Linked DNA regions of Homo sapiens: all the other regions are linked to region 5. The links are contacts of gene promoters, found by promoter capture Hi-C in blood cells and fetal thymus (Javierre and others, 2016). All regions are on one chromosome and are shown on one strand. Each heading gives the region's core, a stretch centred on a gene start or on the middle of the fragment in contact. The rest is flanking DNA. Distances are from core to core; before and after follow the strand shown. Region 1 holds the start of DAPP1 (dual adaptor of phosphotyrosine and 3-phosphoinositides 1). Region 2 overlaps H2AZ1-DT (H2AZ1 divergent transcript). Region 3 holds the start of AFF1 (ALF transcription elongation factor 1). Region 4 holds the start of DNAJB14 (DnaJ heat shock protein family (Hsp40) member B14). Region 5 holds the start of PDLIM5 (PDZ and LIM domain 5). Region 6 holds the start of PPP3CA (protein phosphatase 3 catalytic subunit alpha). Region 7 overlaps DNAJB14 (DnaJ heat shock protein family (Hsp40) member B14).

Region 1 (2,700 bases), core at 26-2,525, 5.4 Mb after region 5:
TGCACAGCAGCCTTTTGCAATCATCTAGTCCTTTAGGAACAGTTCTGCTGTGCTGTTTAGTCCTCAGGCCACACTGTGAGAACAAGTTACAGAGCACTGTGGTGAGTGCTGAATGAGTCAGGGAGTAGAGATAGGAAGAGAGAGAGAGAAAGGGAGAGGGAGAGAGAGACCTGTAGGTACATAGAAAAGGCAGGAAGCAACATATGTCCTTGACTCATTTGATACTGCACTTTGTTCCACTTCCCAAGGATTCAGTCACTGCAATTTACCTTTAGCATTCCAGGCAGATAGAATCCTGCTCTACATATGAATCTGGGCACAAAGCCATGCAGGTGTGAGTAAGCCCATGAAGGAAGTGGCACTCAAAGACTCTAGGAGTTCAGGCCAGGTGCAGTGGCTCATGCCTATAAGCCCAGCACTTTGGGAGGCCGAGGTGAGTGTATCACCTGAGGGTGAAACCCTGTCTCTATAAAAACACAAAAATTAGCAGAGCATGATGACGGGTGCCTGTAATACCAGCTACTTGGGAGGCTGAGGCAGAAGAATCACTTGAACCCTGGGAGGTGGAGGTTGCAGTGATCTCAGGTCATGCCATTACACTCCAGACTGAGTGACAGAGCGAGACTGTCTCAAAAAAAAAAAAAAAAAAAGACTCCAGGAGTTCTAATATGCCCCATTAGGTGGGCACCAGAATGGCCCCTTGTAACTTTTTCCTACCTTCTCCTCTCCTAATTCTTTTTCTGTGGAGGAAACAATAATTGTCTCTGAATCATCCCTATTCGGAGCATTGAGGATATATTAGAAGGTCTGGGTAAACAAGCAGAAATATTGCAAAAGTGCTAAAACATCAAACTTCAGGGTCGAATTTGTGGTTTGCTTCTGCTTTTTCTATCCACTCTAAAGGTGTTCCTGATAGAGAAGCTTCCTCAGTGTTCCCTGTGTTGGTGTGTAAGACAGAAAGAAGATGGGGTAAAAGAGTGCACGCATCCTCCACTACAAACCAGAGGCTGATAGCATTAGGGAGAAGCTAGGGTTTGGCCTCACACAAGCAGTTTGCACTGTTGTCCAATCCCAGGTGGGGTGGTTGCCTCTTCATTTCCTTTGATAGCAACCGCCTGTTGCGTGATGTAGTGTGGGTGTCCTCAGAGGTAGCTACCTAAGTTTGCATACTTCCTGACTGACAGAACACTCCTGCCAGTGCCTCCAGGCCAGGGTGGTGGTGTTGGTGGGAGGAGTAAGTAACCAAGTTTCACTTCCTTGCCTTGGAGACTCAGAGCCATAGCAGGCTGCTGTCTCACAGAGCGAGAAGGTGTCAGGAGCAGCCCAGTTGTGTCTCTCTCTCTACCTCTGTGAAGGGCGCGAATGGGCAGAGCAGAACTTCTAGAAGGGAAGATGAGCACCCAGGATCCCTCAGATCTGTGGAGCAGATCCGATGGAGAGGCTGAGCTGCTCCAGGACTTGGGGTAAGGCAGCAGATCTCCTTTCAAAGTACCTAGTGGGTGGACATTGACTCCGCACTCCCACCTGCATGCTTTGATTAATGACTATCTTCAGTGCCTTGTTGCCCTCTGCCACCTCAACCATTTATTTTTTTCCACTTTATTCATTTGTATCTGTTAAGTATCTTCTTGTCTGGGGCTAATTCCATTGGAAAAGCAGGCATTATTTTTCTAGATGTGAAAACAAGTTGGTTGAGAAAATAGGGAAAAAAATCAAATGTTGGACATTCTTTGAGAAGAGGGACAGAATTGGGATATAGAGGTGATGTTGCCTGGCTTCCTTGATGTTGCTCTGGTTTATGAATAAATGCGCTGTTCAAGAGTTTCTAGCACTGACCCAGGGACAGTAAAAGGACTGTGTTTCTGGTAAGATAAACAGAAAGCTTACCCTACTGTAAGGGAGAGGGACTTTTTCAAAAGACAGAGAATGAGGAAGTTCCTGCAACAGTCTCGCTTGTATATTTCTTTCTCCTGATACTGCATTTGTGAGATTTGATATCGTATGTATGTCCAGAGAGCCAACTTTGAGCCTTTCAGTACCAACAATCCAGGAAGAGGATAAAATTTCTGCTTCAAACAGGTAAGCATAGGTAGGTGGAGTCATTGGAGCTCTGTCTTTAAGAAGGGACCCAGATGACAACTCATCCGGGTATTTAATAAGAAACAAGTATTACACAAGAGAGGAATTGGGGATTTCCCAGAGAAACTGCCTAATGCACTGGGAATATCCCAATGAAGGTGGCTTTGACACCTGTGCATGAGGAGAGGCAAAACCTTTACCTTCTGCCTGGACAAATAGCTCTAACTCTTCATAGCAATCCAATGACATAGGAGCTGTTGTCATCTTCATCTTACAAAGGATGAAAACAAGTACCAAACAGGTTTGAATAACTTGCTTGCTAGTCACACATCAATTACATAGCAAAGCTGGGCATCCAACCTACCACAGGCTATGTCCGAAACCAAAGAAAAACCAAAATAGAGTTGAAATCTCTCTGTGTTAAGGCTGCAGAGATTGTATCTTTTTATGTTGTATTACTGTAAAAGTTTATTAATAATTCCTGTCTTTAGATTATAAAACTGAGGTCTCGGAATTGAACTCTACTTTCATTTGGCAAATCAGATAAAACACCTGGAATTTTCATTAAAGAAAACTCCCCTTATTAGGAAGCCAGAGCTCTAGAATCTCTCTATCCCTCTA
Region 2 (2,700 bases), core at 49-2,548, 5.5 Mb after region 5:
AAATGCTCCAAAAATTTTTTTAATGCAGGAGGCATAAACAATATGGCAAAATATTTATAATTATTGAAATTAAGTACTTATTTGAAATTTTCAGTAGAGTTCAAAAAGAAAAAATTGGTAATGAAATTGCTGCAGATGCTGTCTCTGTGTAGGAAGAAAAAAATGGTAAACTTTGCTTTGTGGTCATCAGTTTGCCGTTGTTTGGGACCTTTTCATATCATAGTTTTTACCCTTAAATTAAAAAAAAAAAAAACCAACCCCAATATCCTGTTTAAACAAACCAAGCTTCGCTTCTTAGCCACTCTGGTTTCACCACATAAACGATACTTTATTGTTTGAAGTTGTGCTGAGCTGTCTTTAACAGCTAAGTTTATCTACATATATAAATATTCTGACTGTAAATTTTGTTTTGTTGGGCTATACTAAAATAACATGCAGAGAACTTGAACATGAAACACAAACGGTAAGAGGCAAAGATGCAGCAGTGGAAAAAAAGAGGAAAATTGAATTCAGAACAAACTGGATTTGACATTTATGCTTCCCAGCTAAGAGACGTTGGTCTAATCAACCTATGTGAGCATTCCACTTCTCTTGGGCAGAATGGGACTATTGTGAAGACTGCATGAGCTAAGTCATGTGCTTTTTTAACTGTAATGCATCATACCAAGATAAAATATTATTAGCATGAAGAATGAATGCTGGCAATATTTCATGACTATTTTCATTTTACAAAAGTGAAAAATTATTTACACTGATTTTTAAAAAGAATTAAAAATAATTTACAAAATTTATCCTAATAAACAGCAATAAGAAACACATTTGGTCTGCCTTTACATATTTCCATCGGTAGGAGAATCAGATCTGCTCAACAAGGATAGAGTTCCACTTTGGTTTTTGACTTTGTTCCTGCTAAGGATCATTTTACTACAGTGATATTAGGTCTTACTTAGAAAAACTATTATTCTGTCTCTTCAGGTGTAGTTAACTACACTGAAAATTTCCATTAAAAAGATACCAGAGTAAAGAAATAATTTTATAATGCAGAAAATCACCCCAGTTTTACTGTTTTATACCCTATCTTTAATATATCAAGTTTGTTTGTTTTAATTTCAGCACCTAATACAATTTCGCCTCTTCAAAAACTTACAGATAAATTGAGAACTATACTCAGAAGCCACAGGCAACATTAACTGTGACTTAGATGGTTCTGAGTAATTTATAATTCAATTTGCAGCCAATATTCAGTGTTGTTATGCACTTGAACTCAGCTTTTCTGGAAATTGTTTAAGGCACGTAAACATCCTGCGTTAATGAAAAGTTGTTCTTACAACATAATTGTGAGTCATGAAGAGAGAACTGAAGAAAACATAACCTTTTTTCCTTATCCTTTCTTTAGAAAAAGAGGCCAAATGAAAGAATATGAATATCTCTTTAAAGTAATTAATGGCTTAAGGGCTACAAAGTACTTTGAAAACAAAAGCAAAAATTTCTCCTAATAAACAGCAACAAGAAACACATTTGGTCTGGCTGTAGTATTTCTGTCAGTGGGAGAATTAGACACACAAGGATAGAGTTCCACATTGTTTTTCATTGTTGTTGTTGTTTGTTTGTTTGTTTTGAGACAGAGTTTCGATCTTCTTGTCCAGGCTGGAGTGCAGTGGCGCGATCTCGGCTCACTGCAACCTCTACCTCTCAGGTTCAAGCTATTCTCCTGCCTCAGCCTCCCAAGGAGCTGGGAATACAGGCATGCACCATCATGCTCGGCTAATATTGTATTTTTAGTAGAGATGGGGCTCTTACCATGTTGGTCAGGCTGGTCTCGAACTCCTGACCTCAAGTAATCCACCTGCCTCAGCATCCCAAAGTGTCGGGATTACAGGTGTTAGCCACTGTGCCTGGCCCACATTGGTTTTTTACTTTGTGCCTGCTAAGGATCATTTCACTACGGTGATGTTAGGTCTTATTTAGATAAAATGTTATTCTGTCTTTTCAGGTGAATGGTAGAGAAAATAGATTATATTCCTGTGGGCACTGCTAGTACTTTCAATACTTTTATAATGGGCTCATCTGTATCTCTTTACTCTCATTTTTTCATTTTTTAATGGTCTCAATCTAGATGATTCTTTTCCCATTTAAAAAGCCATTATTTATTAATTGATTGATTCTTGAAAAGGCTAAACTTGTCAATGTTTCAACATTTAAAAGGCTAAAAAAAGTGGTATAGAGTGAAAATTCTCTCTCCCACTCCTATCCTTCAGTTGCTCAGCAATGTGTTTTCTCCATAGTTTCCCTGATCACCTGCTTTTGTTTACAAAGCTTTTGTTGCTTCCTCTATCTGAAATGTGCTTCAGATAGCTGTCAATTTTTGCACTTTACTTCTTCAAAATATGGCTCAATACTCTCCTTTAGTGAACATTCCCTGAGCCACCATCTCCAAAATTGATCTCTTATTCCCCTTGATTCTGCATCATTGAATATGGTTTGTACCCTGCTTTCTTTAATATACTTTAAATTGCTAATGCTCCTAAATTACTTTCATATTTTCTGGAATGATTTTAGATTTTTGAATAGCCTACAGATTTACAGTGCCTTGAAAGCAAGAAATGACTTTTATTTTATTTTTCCTACGTAGCAGTCTGGATCTATGCAACTAGTTGGTGCCTAGTATCTTCTGTATCCTCAAAAATTATTAACTGGCAT
Region 3 (2,700 bases), core at 65-2,564, 7.5 Mb before region 5:
TAGAATAGAGATCAGTCTCTGTTAGAAACCTTTAAAAGGTGTACAAACACTTTGTAAGAGATGACTCCTGTCCCATCCTGCTCAGGGATGACCAGAACTTTCATCTTAGATAGATACACCACCAGGTTTCATCAGGGACACCTTAATTATTTTAGCTGTCTAGGTAAACCAATCTCCCGATGGGAGGATATGGAGTAGGGCGAAGAGTTATATTTTGGAAAACAATCCATGGGAAATTAAGTCAAGTAGCCAAAGGTTTAATTTGGAAATGCAAATATCCATCAATTAGGTTTTCAATTATGTGGACAATAAAAGAGTTGAGCAGAGCAGTAGAGACAAACAAAATTAAAAAGAGAAAAGGCAGAGAAGGCAGGGAGGGGCTTATTTTCACACATTATACCAATTTACATTACACATCATATTAAATTTAAGTAAGGCGCTTTTCTTCATCCAAATAATTTCACCCATTTTAAACCATAAAATACTGTCGGCGAAATCTCATCTGGGCCATTTGATGTAATCTTTCTGCGTCCCTTTCAGGAAGGAAGGTGCGACAACACAATGAAGACAGCCTGTTGCTTTCCTTGGTATGTTTACAGCAGGAATCGGGCAGCGACTTAACTAGACATAAGTTTCCCCTTCTTCCCATGGGTCTATTTGCCAAAGCCCCCTGCACCTATTAGAATTTTCTGAGGTTGGGCTGGTGGAGAGCAGAAACCCGGAGGCTAGATTCAGGAGACCTGGTTTCCCATGCCACTTAGTAGCCTGTGACATTGAGCACAATACTTACTTTTCGGCGCTTCCGTTTCATTATTTGGGAAATGGGAACAATATATCTGTTTTATAAGATTGTTGTGAAGATGAAACAGGCCTGTGTGTGAAAGGCCTTTTCTAAATTGTAAAGCGCTCCCCAGATGTTAGTTATTATCTCCTTTAAAGGGCACAGAATCTGTTTCAATATTATAGGAGGTTGCAAAAAGGCTCCTTGACACTTTTTGCTCAGAACTTGACCCTGAGCTTAATCTCGCCGTAAAGTGAAAGGGTTCTTGCGCCCCCACAGCAGCCCGGGGCAGGGTCACCCTCGCGACCGGGGCGGTCATTGCCGTATTCCGTCCTGAGCTGCCGCTCCCCCACGATCCTCCCACCAATCCCGGGAGGGCCGCGACGTCCCTTGCCGCTTGGGTGGCGCCAGCTAGAGGGCGCGGGCCGGGGCGGAACCCGGTACCGCAGCTCGGGAGGTGGGGGTGGGGGCGGGGCCTCGCGCGGAGGGCGTGGCCTCGGGGCGTCCCGGGCAGCCGGCGTGCTGAGCTTGCCAGCCAGCTAGCGAGCGACGGGCGCGCGCGGCCCCTGCGCACTCGGCCGCCGCCTGCGCGCGTTGCGGCCGCAGCTGCACCTTTGCCTCCGCGGTTCCGCAGCCGAGCCCCGGGAGGAGGCGCTCCCCTGCGTCGTCCGCACTTGCGCCCTTTCCCACCGCAACAGGTCAGGGGAGGGCGGAGGTGACGAGGGCGCCCGACCCGGGACTAGAGGACGGAAGGGTCTGGAAGGTGAGCGCAGCCCTGCGCCACCCAGGGCTGGGGGTCGATCCGCCCGGCCCCCGACGCCGCCGCCGCGGACTTCTCGGAAGCCGAGGCTCTCCCCGCCTCTCTGCCGGCTTCCCAGCACGCTGACTCAAGTCGCTGGCGTTCCCACTTTTCCGGTGGGAGCCCTCGGGGAGAACGGGCTAGGGCTCAGAGCTCTCACCGCCCTACTTGCGATCCCGCGGCAGGTAGCGCGTAGAAAAACAGGGGACGGGGACATGGGAAGAGACCCATGCTCCTCCCTCACGCGCAGCCCCCAAGTCAGACGTTTGCCTGTGCACCCCGCGTTTTGCGGAGAGCTGTCCCGTTGTTGGGACCTGCTACTTGAGTTGCGTAATGAGTCCCAGAAGTTTCTCGGGGGGAGGGGGCGGGGAAAAGTGGGGTTCTTCTCTCCTGCACCCCGGGACCCTTCCCTGTGCCTGTCGTGGAGAGAGATGAGGGCTTCCCGCCGCGTCTCGCTGAGAGCAGGAGGGAGGCGTGTGTCGGTGGTCCGTAGCCTCCGGGGAGGAGTTGGAGCCACCTTCTGAGACTTAACTTCAGGGACAGAGGGAGAGGCGTCTTTAGTATGGGACTGGTTAATTTCTCTTGATAATGCTTTTTTCCCTCGGGTGTCCCATCCTCTGTGGCCGTCGCAACCCCACCCTCCGACGGTGCGAGCGCCGGAGCCAGCGAATGAGAGGGGAGAGAAGGTGGAGAGTGTGAATCACACGTTACCTTAGTGTAATGGTAGTTGCATTAATGGAGCTGCGACGGGCCTGCGGGCGGTTCGATACCGTCCGGCTAGTTTTCTCTTCCCGGAGCTTCTCCACCACCAGCACCCGCAAATTGTTATGCAGATCATCCCGGGAAGGCACTTGGCTTTGGAGGTGGAGATGTGTCCGAATCTCCCTTGAACCAGTCTCTGTTAGGGGGAAAGGCCTTGCAGCCAAGTGATTTGTTTTAAGGGTGGAGCCGGAGATAATTTTAAACACCCTCCCCCTTGGTGCACGTTGCGGGGTGTGACTCACCACGGGGAAATCAGACTGATTTAAAACCTTCAGTGCAAACTTGTAAATTAAGGCGAAGACCCAGTGTTCCCTGGGACAGTTGCAAAGTGAGAAGAGCTCAGAAACTGAAGCACAGA
Region 4 (2,700 bases), core at 160-2,659, 5.5 Mb after region 5:
AAACCACAACTTAAAAAATTATTAACTCTTTTCTTTCATTTTATTTTCCTGTCCTCATGGGTATAGTGTTAGAAGGCAATGTAATGGAAAGGATAGAGAGAAAAGCAAAGAGCACAGGGCTTCAACGACGTAGAGAAAAAAATTTAAGAGACAACAAAACAAGTGGCCCCATATTTTCATTAATAATTTTCTACAATTAATTGAATCTATCGATAACTTTCTTCTTAACCTGGAAATACTAATGGCAAGGCAACAGTGTAGCGGTTAAAGGCCTTTTCGAGTCTGAAAGTTCAGCTACTATTCTGACTTTGCTACTAATTGTTGTGTGACCTTGGGTAAGATACTTTCATTCATTCGCTAATTCATTCATTAATTATCAGAAAGTCTGTTTCCACGTGGGTAAACCTGGTCAAATGAATCCTGCACCTCTACACAGAATTGTTCTGAGGAATAAATGAAATAATCCATGCAAAATGTTGGGCACAACTATTGGCACTTTGTGCTCAATAAATGTTGGCTATTATTACTCCGAAGCCTATCGAGTAGGAAAATAAATAAGCTGACTTCAACTAAAGGAAACCCAGTACCATATTCCTCAGAGATTTGGTTCGTCGATAATCATGGTGTTATCAAATCAGATACTCTTCAGCAATCATTACTGACTCTTGACCATTCTTGCCGAAAGTGTGCTCTTCTCTTTTAAAGGAACTCTCTCCCAGGGAAAAGCAATGTCATCTCAGGTATTCGATGTTTGCTTTGGGAACAGTTTTCTACAGATCTCAGAAACATGGAATCTGAGATTAGCCACTAGAGTACACCATTCCTCTCACTTCGATAGGGGCCTAGGCCTTATGTAGGACTGAGAATGGGGAGGGAGGGGGCCACATAAACAACACAGATACAAATAAAGCCTCACTGTGGTAAGACGGGACCAGACAAGTCTCCTCCAGGGAGAATGAAACCCGGACATTTAGGACAGCGGAACGCGGAGCCGGCGGGCAGGCGGGTGCAGAGGAACCTCGCGCAGCATTCCCCGAGCCCCAGCCCGGAGCCGGGGCTGGGGCCAGGGCGGGGGTGTGTCGGGATGCTCCCCACCGGGCCTGGGGCTGGGGCTGGCTCAGACAGGCCGGGGGCCCCGCAGGCCTCCAGGAGGGGCCGAGGTGGGGGCAGGGGCGGGCTACGCGGTGGTCTGGGGATTGGGCAGGAAGAGAAGGGACGCTGAGGTCTCACCGCGGGCCGAGGGCAGTGGGTAGAGCTTCTCGGCCTTCTGCAGGAAGCGCTGGGCCTTCTCGCGGTTGCCGGCGTTCAGGGCCTCCCGGGCGATCTCGACACATTTCTCAGCCTCATCCCTGTTCCCCTCCATAGCTTGCTCCTTCTTCCGTTTCCTCCGGCAGCGCAGCTAAGAAGGGCGGAAGCCGCCGCCGCGGAGGAGGCGAGGCGGGACCGGCTGGGGGCGTGCGGCGGCAGCGGGGAGGAGCGCAGGGGACCGCGGCAGCGGCTGCGACGGCCCGGGCGGACGGGCGGGCCTCGCAGCTCCGCCTCCTCACGGCGGCCTCCCCGCCCCCCGCGGGCCCCTAGGGCGCGATCCGCATCCGTCCCGGCCCAGGACCAACCTCCTGGGCCGGGGCGTCCGAGCTGACTCGGTGGTCCGCGCACGGCGCCAGCAGGCTCGAAGCGGACCTGCCCGGGAGGCGGACGATAGCAGCCGGGCTGCCCATCGCGGGGAGGGGTTCCGCCCGGGACCCGATTGCCGGCATTGGTAGCGCCGTGCCCTGTGACCTCCAGGCGAGGCCCTCGCAGCTCAGGCCAGGAGGACAGGGTCCGGGAAGGGGACACTCGTTTTCAGTAAAATTGCCAGGACTTGGAGGTTCCGCCTCTGGGCCCCTCAAGCGAGGGAGGATGCGGTCAGGTGAGGACCAAGGTGTCAGTCCAGTCTCAGCACTTCCGGGACACGTTAGAGCGTCGTTTGAACCTAATCTTAGGGCTTGTATGGCAGCCTTATTTCAGCTACATTTTTTCTGACCCGGATGTCTGGCTATCCAAAGTACAAAGCAGTTTAATTTGTAGCTTGCAACGAGTGGTGCAGATCGACCTTAATCCTGTGTAGCCAAAACAAGGCAGGAATCAGCCCCTCAGGGGCTGCCCTAACGAAAGCAAACTTTTGATTTCACCTTTTCCGTCCCATTTGGATAACATTACCACTTGGAAGTACCGTGTCTTGTTAGTCTTCGCGGTGGGGGTGGGGGGAATGTTTGCTATGTGCAAATTTTTTAAAAAAAAACATGACAAACTGTCAAAATGACCTGCTCAACCCAACCACAAGGTAACAATTTTTACATAATGCTGTGAGCCAAGCTGTTAATTCTGCTAACTACCATAACTCGGTACTTTCAAATAAGAAACCCTGCTTCTCTTCGATAAAATGGAGATAGTATATCCCCAATGATGTTACTGAGTACTTAACAACTTCAGACTTCAAAGCAGGGCCTGGCACGTAGCACTATTATCTTTAAAGTTTAAATTCGGAGTTCATTCTGTGGATATACAGGACATTCCTACCTATTCTCTCCCTCCCCAAGTCCACCATGCTAACAGCATACTAGTGCAGTGCTGTCACACAGCAAGCGAAGCCAATGTACAAACTGAAATGGTCACACTTAGCCTAAGAAACTGACAATCCCACTCCAGCTCCTGCCAACT
Region 5 (2,700 bases), core at 117-2,616:
ACGCATTTCAATTTGGGCATTATATTTTCAACTTTAGTCCTTAAATGTAGTGCTTAAAAGAAATGTTAACGACCTGGCGCGGTGGCTCATGCCCGTAATCCCAGCACTTTGCGGGGCCGAGGCGGGTTGGTCACCTGAGGTCAGGAGTTCGAGATCAGGCTGGCCAACATGGTGAAACCCCATCTCTACTAAAAATACAAAAAATTAGCCGGGCGTGGTGGCGCACGCCTGTAATCCCAGCTACTCAGGAGGCTGAGGCAGGGGAATCGCTTGAACCCGGGAGGTGGAGGTTGCAGTGAGCCGAGATTGCACCACTGATCCCAGCCTGGGAGACAGAGCAAGAATCCGTCTCAAAGAAAAAAAAAGTAAAGAAATGTTATCCTGCTTCAGTTTTAAATGTTAAATTATTTAAAATTACGTAAAACAAAAAATTCATGGTCTCAGTTACAGTAGCCACATTTCAACTGTTCGATAGCCACATGTGGCCAGTGGCTACCGTTAGGGAAAGAGCAGCTTTGGATCTTCGCCTTTGGAATTTTGCTTGCACTTCTGGGGGCCGGGGAGCTCACGGACCTCATGAAGTTCATCCTTGCTTTATATGCTCCTTGGTTAAGAATTGTCCTTTTCACGTTTTATAAGCCAATTCACAGTGTAACAGTCTAGTTACTTTCCGTATGTTCAGTGAACATTATTCACGTTTTCTTATGAATAAATTCCTCGGGCGTATCAAGCAACCCTATAGAAGGCTGGAAAGTGGACTATTGATTTGGATTTAGAAAAATAAACTGAAGATACAGTGGTTGAATCACTTTTGGCCGCTTTTATGTATCACTGTCTTCTGGTGTGATGGACAGGGTTAACTTCTGTTAGGGTTACTGGTTTTCACCTTCCTGACAGGTAAACTTCTGGGTCTGCACTTTTCAGAGCATGTAAAGCTCTTTCAAAAAAAAAAACGCAGGCAGTAACCGCTGAACTTGCATAGATAGAGATTTATCCAAAGTACCCTTCTATTTTTAGGCAGAGCAACTGCTTGCCAATTTAAATTTCTGGAGAGAAAAATGCACCCACTACAAAACGGACGAGCGGAGGGTTAGACCTTTGCCAGGTAGCGCTCAAAATCCGCTAAGACTACTCCCACCGAAACTCGGTAGCGCAGTTGTCTTTCCGCAGCTGCTTCAGCCAGCCCCAGCAAGCCCGAGCGCCCGGCGCCGCCGCCACCTTCCCCGCCCCTGCGCGGCGCGGCTGGGACTGGCCCAGAGGCGTGGCCGGGAGCGGAGGGGCGTGTCCTGGGTCGGGGGTGGGGCGAGGGAGAGCCAGGAGGCGGAAGTTCCCGCGGGCGGTGGGGACGGCGCCCTCACCGCGAGTCACTTGTCAGCCCTTGTCTGAGGCGGAGGCAGCCCCGCGCCGCGCCGGACCCGAGGTGAGTGGCGGCCGGCCGGCGATGCGCCTCTCGGATCTCCGGTGGGAGAAGGGAAAGAACCGGCCGCTGTGCGCCGAACGCGAGAAGGGAAGCCCGGTTGGGGACGAGGAGGGGGCGCTCCTCGGGCAGGGATGGCTCCTCAGGTGCTTTCTGGGCGCGGAGCGGCGGAGGTGGGAGAGCAGCTTGGGAAAAGGAGCGCCCGGAAAAGGGCAGCGCTGGAGTCCGCATGAGGCCAGAGGGCGAGCCCTGGGGTCCCCGCAGCCCGGGCCGACCGGGACCAGCGTAGCGGAGACGGGGACGCGGGAGGGCGCCCGGAGGTGGCGAGGGCCGGCAGGGACGGGCACTGCCGCTCCCACCCACCCGGCTGCCGGCGTCGCCCGGCACCACCGTGGTGTGGTGTCTGAGTGCCCAGTCCTGCGCCAGTCTCTTGGAGGGTAGGAAGCGGGACTCAAAGGAAAAGGCGCGTTAGTTTTTCTTTGCTCCCAGGCTACTGAGAAGCATTTATTTCTCCCCCAGATATTTACAGTTTTGTGTAACCTGTTTGGGGAAAACTTCTGCGCGTCCAGAAATAAAGCTCGTTTAAGAAACACATTTGTCATGAACACGAGATTTGTTAACACTTGAGTACTTGTTGGGGCTTTTGTAAGACTGTGCCTTCGGTGCGTTTTACAATAAGTGGAAAAAGGAAGGGCGTGTGGACAGGGCAGAGCTTGGAAGGAAAATTCGTGGCGGCGCTGGGCAGGGCAGATTTAGGGTGTGATCGCCAGATCCTATCCCAAGTCCGCCTTCCTGACGGGGAGGACGTCTGAACCCGCCTGCCACGGAAACGGCCCGTTCGGTAGCCTTATTTGGCCAACAAGGCTAGGCGCGAATCCCTCCTGGAAAACTGTCCTGTCGGCTGCTTTCATCCTGTGCCTGTGGCTTTAGTTCTTCAGCTCTACCTACATTCTCTCTCCATTGCGGGGAAAGAGAATCTCAAGATATTTCTCTTTAATTTCAGGCCTTTTTTTTTGTCACTCTGTGTAGTTCATCTTGAGTTCTCCTTTCTCCCCTCTCACCCACTAATGAAGCTGAGATACAAGTGTGGGAAATACCAAGCTTCCTTCCCTAGTACTAGAGCAAAGACATTGTTTAGACTTTCCCTAAAAGAAAATCCATAACTCTACAGAAATTCCAACCTTTTCGACGTGTTTGAAAGAGTATGCTGCTATTTCCTGCCTGCTTGGTATTTGAGGAAGGGCTTGGGCACTAATAACCAGATGGAGGAGTCTTGGAAAGGC
Region 6 (2,700 bases), core at 90-2,589, 6.9 Mb after region 5:
GGGAGGGGGAGGGGGAGGGGGGCGCGGAGGGAATTGCTGCAATGGAGCTCCAAGACAACCCTGCCCAAGTGAGGCAGTCGGTGGAAAGCCACGGCCACATAAAAATGCCGTATTAATTTTTAAAAAGCCATCAATCACCCCTCCCTCTGCAGAAGAAAACCATAAACCCGATCCCATGCAAGCCTGTGAGCAGAGCCACCCACTTCCTATTTCTGTCACAGCAGCTACACCCTACCAGCAACCACCCCCCGGGCGCCCCCTCCCACCACCGCCACCCCCGCCGCCACCTCCCCGCGGCTCAGCCATTTGCCAACTGACGCCCCCGTCAATAAAAATGCCCCAAGTGAGGCTGGGTGGGACGCGTGGGGGAAGGGCGCCGCGGGGGCGGGGGGTTCGCGGGGTTCGCGGGTTGCACAATATCCTAGAAGGTCCGCGGCTGGAGCGGACAGAGGAGAACCTGGGGCGGGGGAGGGGAGGAAAGGCGAGGCGAGGCAAGCTGCCCTGGCGCCTGCGGCACACGGTGCACCCAGGCCACCGCGGCGCTCCGCTTACCTTTCACCACCCTGTCGGTCGTCGACAACTTGGGATCAATTGCCTTGGGCTCGGACATCTCCAGCTGCCGGAGGACAGCGACGCGCTGCTCGTCCGTCCGACTGCACACCCCGACCGGACCGGCGGGCCAGACACTCAACGCCGCCGCCGCCGCCGCCGCCGCCGCGCTGCAAACCGCTCGGCTGGAGGTCTAGGCTCTGAGCTGGCTTTAAAGTTGCTGCCTTTTCCGCGCGTCCCTCCTCCGCCGCCGCCGCCTTCACTCCTCCTCCGCCGCTGCCGCCAGCCCCGCCGACTCGCTCCGGGCTGCGCGTGTGTGGTGGTTATTTATTTATTTTCTGAGCACGCCTCCCGGTTCTTCTTTTATTCTTGGGGGAAGGGGGATGGGGAGGAGAAGCGCACACACGAGCACCCACCCCGGCACGGAGACCCAGCACCGCGGAATGGAGCCCCACGCGCGCACACACGGCCAGGATTAAGACCGATCACATGGGGAAGGCCGGGGGCGAGGGAGGAGAGGCAGGGCCGCCGATGTCAGTGCCACCAGCCGCACCTTGGCGTCCCCGGCGGCGGAGAGGCGGCCGCCGCTGCTGCCGCTGCTGCTGCCGCTGCCGCTGTTGCTGCTGCCGCTGCCCCTGCTTCTCCACACAGAGCGCCGCCGCTGGTGCCGCGGCCGCCGGAGACGTCCCGCCGCCGCGATCGCCCGCGCTCGCCTCTGCCTCCCCGCGCCGCTCCTCCACTCACCAAGGCACAGCCGCCGAGCTCGGCAGACACAGTCCCGGGCACAACCTACCCCCCTCCGCCGCCGCCGCCGCCGCCAACACCGCGCCCGCCTCCGCCTCCTCCCCTTCCTCCTCCCGGCCCCCGCCTCTTGCGCGCCTGCAGCCTCCTCCTCCCCACTGAGCCCGCCCCCGACCTCCCGCCCCGACGCCGGAGTTCCTCGCGTTCATTGGCTAGAGGGCGCATCACTCAGTGCCAGGTGGCGGCCTCCCCGCTTGTCCCGCCTCCCGCTCCTCCTCATTGTCCCCGCCCCTTGCTCTGTTTTCTTCCAGCTGCCGGACCAGCGGGCCTGCCGCCTCTACGGACCAGTCCCTGCTCAGGTGTCACTTTTGCTGGCAGGCCGAGATTAGGGCAGGAGAGTGGGCAAGGCGTCGCGGCCAGGAGGAGAAGGGCTCTACCACGCCACCCTCCTTTGGCCTCCGAACGCGGACCCCGCACACACACACCCGCGCCTCTTTGGCAAGCGTGCCTTGTCGGCTGGGTTAAGCCGCAGTGTGAGTAGCCAAGTGCAGAGGGTGTCTCCGGGTGTGTGCGTGGCCCACAAGAGGGCAAGAAGAGAGAAGGCGGGGATAGGAGGGAAGAGGGTGGGGGTGAGAGGCAGCCCTGAGAGGGCGGAGGAAGGAAGAGGCTGGGAGCTCGGCGCCCGCGGCGCAGCTGCCGTCGCTGCCGCAGCTGTCCAGGGAGGATCGCCAAAACGGCGACGAATAAACAACTTACCTTGCGGAGAAGAGCTACGACTGCGATGCGGTGTACGGTTGTTTTTGCTTTTGCGTTGGCGGCTTAGGGGCTGTTACTGTGTCCCACCCAGGCGTGCACACCGAGCGGCGGGGCGCTGTGGAACGCGGGAGCGGACTAGCGGAGGAGGATGCGGACCAAGCCCCAGCGACCCAGGGCAACTCGGAGCTACCTCGGGCAGCCCTGCGGGTCTCCGAGGAGAACCGAGGAGACGGGAGAAACATGGGAGAGGGTGGCCTTTTCCCTGTTCACACACACATGCACGCAGCCACTGGCCGGGACAGTTGACACCCATCTTCCTTCCCTGCTCCTTCCAGTCATTCTACACCCGCTTGGTGCTGCCAGTGCGGGCAGGGCCTTGGAGCCCAAAGCGGATCCCCACACTTGTCCCTACGGTCGGAAGGAAAGTAGAGGAGAGAAAGTCAGGCGCGGCAGGGCTAAGAGCAATAGTGGCCCAAATGTTCCTGGCCCGCCTGCTGCGCCACAGAGTCTGAAAAGCGGGTCTCCGTCTACCAGAAGGTGACCTCCACACAGCCCCTCTCCCCGACCAACTGCAGCACCCAAGGACTGGCAACGTGGTTGGAGCTTTTGGGGGGAATTATGAAGAAATCTGAATAAATTTCTCACCCTTCATGT
Region 7 (2,700 bases), core at 145-2,644, 5.4 Mb after region 5:
CCATCTCTACAAATAATAATAATAATTAAGAATTATCCGAACGTGGCGTGCACCAGGTACTCGGGAGGCTGAGGCAGGAGGATCCCTTGAGCCCAGGGTTTGAGGCTGCATCGAGTGGTGATCGCCCCACTGAACTCCAGCTTGTGTGACAGAGCGAGACCCTCAAAAGAAAAGCTTCTTTAGAAATCGCATCCTCTTTCAGCTACCACACTGTTTTTCCTCTACTCCCTTTCATAGCCAAATTTTCAGAAAACTTTAGCCTGGTTTTCAATTGCTGCTTCCATATGTCACAAATCTAATCAGAGTTCTGTTGATTCTACCTCCTATCTTTGAAAACTATTCACCTATCTATATTCCTACCCTACTCCAAGCCATGATCATCTCTCTTTTGACAACAACCTCCTATTCTTCTTACATTCTCTTTTGCCCTCCAGTCTCCACACAGCAACAAAAATGATGTTCTAAAGACCCAAATCACATCATTTAACTCCTTCCTTGAAAATCAAGTTTATTGACTTAGGATAAAGTTCAATATCAGCATCATGGTTTATATATCATTCTTATGGGGATCTGGCCCCTATCTTAATTCTCTCACCTACCCTGGATTCCTTATGCTATGATCATACAAGTTTGTTTTCACTTCCATAAAGATTTTTATCACTTTACCAACTTAGCACGTTCTGCCTGAGATATTTCTCTAGCATACCTTAATCCTACTAATCTCATCTTTTGCATTTTGGCTTAAACTCACTCTCAGAGAAGCCTTCCCTGACCCTCACTGAATAGTTTAGGTCTTCTAGATAAATGCTTTCATTGTACCCTGTAATTTTCTTTGTAGAATTTATCATAATTATAATTATTTACTTGATATTTATTTTCTTTGCTAGATGTAAACTCTTTAAGGTTTTTGTCTTTCTTATTCAGTGATTAATTCCCAGCACCCAGCTCACTGCCTGGGATATAGCAAGCATTGACATACTTGTTGAATAGTTGAATGAATGAAAGAGTGGCCATATTGAGTATAAAACATGATAAAAACAAACATTTTACAGTGAGAACAGACCTTTTTATTAATATATTGAGATAAACTACAGAGACTGAAAGACAAAAATTCATATTTCATTCAGAACATTCATTAAAAATCAAATGCATTTGAGTTCTCACAGAAAATTTTATGTAAGTCTGATATAACATTAAATATTTTACAAATCAGACATTTCATTTTGAAATCTAATTTTTAATCCTGAATGCATTATAGACAAAGTAAGCTCTCCTTTACCAATTTCATTTAACTTATACAAGGCTTCCATTATAATTCCATCAAACCTTAAAAATTACCTGCAGCTTTTAAAAACACATAAAGTAAATGGAAAGAAAGTCTTATGTAGCAATCCAAAAACTAAAACTAGAAATTGGCAAGAAGCATTTCTTAATACAGATAAACTGCAAAATATCATTTATGTGTGTTTCTTCTCATTGGTTTAATCATCCTATTAAAAATAATTTTTTGAAAGTAATAATTACAATACTCCAATGTCACTGAAAATCTCTATGATTTTAATGGTGTCCTTAAATGGCAAAGTAGAATATCAGACTGAAATGTACAGAGTGTTGTGCTGAAGTGAATGAGACTTGCCATGCCAGGTGTCATCTGCTATGCAGTTACAAGACATCTTGGCAACTAGTCATCCCAGTTTTTACTAACTTACTAAACAAGGACATTTCAAGAAATACTTCTTACCCCTATGTATTTCCAGATGGCTGGATATAGAAAGATATAATTATGTTTGAAGCATGGGCCTTATAATAGGAATCTCTCCATTAAAATATGAAAAAGAGCAACAAATAATTCACACCAATGAAATTGTGTTGACTGATTTTCAAAGTCAGACATAAAAATATCCACTGCTAATGGAAGCCCTGCTCTGTGCAAACATAGTGTGGTATATATTAAACAATCACACATTTGAGGTAATTAGCTGGGAAAAAAAAAAAAAAATATATATATATATATATACACCTATACATAGACACATCCACAGAATATTCACAAATCTATTGGCCCCAACACCAGCAGATAGTCATATTAAATGAAAAATATCACATACCAACAGGAAAAAGTTACACATAGGGAATATACAAAAAATATGGTGCTATAATCCTTAATATAAGGAGTATGTTTTGAATTAATGTTTTGAGGAAAAGTGTTTCCATTTATATGAAAGTATCTATTTAATAGTAATAAAACCAAAAAGGAAGCTGAATTCTAGGACTGTTTTACCTGCCAAATAATTGAAGGGATGAGCAAGAATTCCTTGAAAAGCCTCATTCTATCCTTTTTCTTTGTAACTAAAAATTAGAATTTAAAATGTTGGAAATTATTGCCAGACAAGTTTCTTTTCATTGGTTTATAGGGAATTTTATGGATTTTAACTAGGCAATGGTCCAATGTGGTCAACAGACATGGTTTTTCAGCTGTTGAATGAAAATTAAAATAAAGATTTATTGTTGATTTTCATTAGTTTTTCTGTTCAGATAAGAAAAAAGATTATGAATTCCCTTTCAGTTTGCTTCACTCATTATGAAGATGGATAGTAATAGGATAGTACTGAACCCAAGCTTCACATGGGGAAGCTCAAGAAATGTACAAATTCTCTTCTTAACCATTTGGTCCTCTGATATAAAACTTGCTTAACTGGC

What was found. The method cuts DNA at HindIII sites, captures the fragments that hold promoters and counts their contacts. A CHiCAGO score of 5 or more calls a contact.
Region 1: a contact is called between the fragment with the promoter of DAPP1 here and the fragment with the promoter of PDLIM5 in region 5, in 8 of 17 cell types (activated CD4 T cells, non-activated CD4 T cells, total CD4 T cells and 5 more). The highest score is 12.5, in activated CD4 T cells.
Region 2: a contact is called between a fragment that was not itself captured here and the fragment with the promoter of PDLIM5 in region 5, in 1 of 17 cell types (non-activated CD4 T cells). The highest score is 7.0, in non-activated CD4 T cells.
Region 3: a contact is called between the fragment with the promoter of AFF1 here and the fragment with the promoter of PDLIM5 in region 5, in 1 of 17 cell types (neutrophils). The highest score is 5.3, in neutrophils.
Region 4: a contact is called between the fragment with the promoter of DNAJB14 here and the fragment with the promoter of PDLIM5 in region 5, in 8 of 17 cell types (non-activated CD4 T cells, activated CD4 T cells, fetal thymus and 5 more). The highest score is 18.3, in non-activated CD4 T cells.
Region 6: a contact is called between the fragment with the promoter of PPP3CA here and the fragment with the promoter of PDLIM5 in region 5, in 1 of 17 cell types (non-activated CD4 T cells). The highest score is 11.8, in non-activated CD4 T cells.
Region 7: a contact is called between a fragment that was not itself captured here and the fragment with the promoter of PDLIM5 in region 5, in 1 of 17 cell types (total CD4 T cells). The highest score is 5.9, in total CD4 T cells.

What each region holds. Positions count from the first base shown.
Region 1 is chr4:99,815,552-99,818,251 of GRCh38, forward strand. It overlaps DAPP1 (dual adaptor of phosphotyrosine and 3-phosphoinositides 1), which reads left to right and starts at 1,276. Exons shown (of 9, transcript NM_014395.3): 1 at 1,276-1,463. The coding sequence starts at 1,363. The HindIII fragment of the contact is 961 bases long and covers 920-1,880 here.
Region 2 is chr4:99,965,589-99,968,288 of GRCh38, forward strand. The region is part of intron 1 of H2AZ1-DT (H2AZ1 divergent transcript); the gene reads left to right. Among named protein-coding and RNA genes, the nearest start is that of H2AZ1-DT, 16 kb to the left of the region's middle. The HindIII fragment of the contact is 2,031 bases long and covers 284-2,314 here.
Region 3 is chr4:86,933,697-86,936,396 of GRCh38, forward strand. It overlaps AFF1 (ALF transcription elongation factor 1), which reads left to right and starts at 1,315. Exons shown (of 21, transcript NM_001166693.3): 1 at 1,315-1,544. AFF1-AS1 (AFF1 antisense RNA 1) reads right to left here and starts at 1,154. Exons shown (of 3, transcript NR_038841.1): 1 at 791-1,154. It also overlaps a transcript of C4orf36 not described here. RefSeq lists silencers at 1,020-1,769, 2,240-2,378 and enhancers at 1,691-2,232, 2,233-2,700, 2,630-2,700. The HindIII fragment of the contact is 7,488 bases long and covers 1-2,700 here.
Region 4 is chr4:99,945,209-99,947,908 of GRCh38, forward strand. It overlaps DNAJB14 (DnaJ heat shock protein family (Hsp40) member B14), which reads right to left and starts at 1,410. Exons shown (of 8, transcript NM_001031723.4): 1 at 1,231-1,410. The coding sequence starts at 1,363. RefSeq lists an enhancer at 794-843 and a silencer at 1,014-1,673. The HindIII fragment of the contact is 11,087 bases long and covers 1-2,700 here.
Region 5 is chr4:94,450,576-94,453,275 of GRCh38, forward strand. PDLIM5 (PDZ and LIM domain 5) reads left to right here and starts at 1,367. Exons shown (of 13, transcript NM_006457.5): 1 at 1,367-1,420. RefSeq lists silencers at 1,017-1,436, 1,607-1,866. The HindIII fragment of the contact is 3,776 bases long and covers 1-2,516 here.
Region 6 is chr4:101,346,187-101,348,886 of GRCh38, forward strand. It overlaps PPP3CA (protein phosphatase 3 catalytic subunit alpha), which reads right to left and starts at 1,340. Exons shown (of 14, transcript NM_000944.5): 1 at 553-1,340. The coding sequence starts at 610. PPP3CA-DT (PPP3CA divergent transcript) reads left to right here and starts at 1,591. Exons shown (of 2, transcript NR_033874.1): 1 at 1,591-1,823; 2 at 2,138-2,697. RefSeq lists silencers at 1-115, 136-495, 966-1,575. The HindIII fragment of the contact is 5,765 bases long and covers 1-2,700 here.
Region 7 is chr4:99,895,204-99,897,903 of GRCh38, forward strand. It overlaps DNAJB14 (DnaJ heat shock protein family (Hsp40) member B14), which reads right to left. Exons shown (of 8, transcript NM_001031723.4): 8 at 1,045-2,700. Among named protein-coding and RNA genes, the nearest start is that of LAMTOR3, 2.1 kb to the left of the region's middle. The HindIII fragment of the contact is 2,445 bases long and covers 173-2,617 here.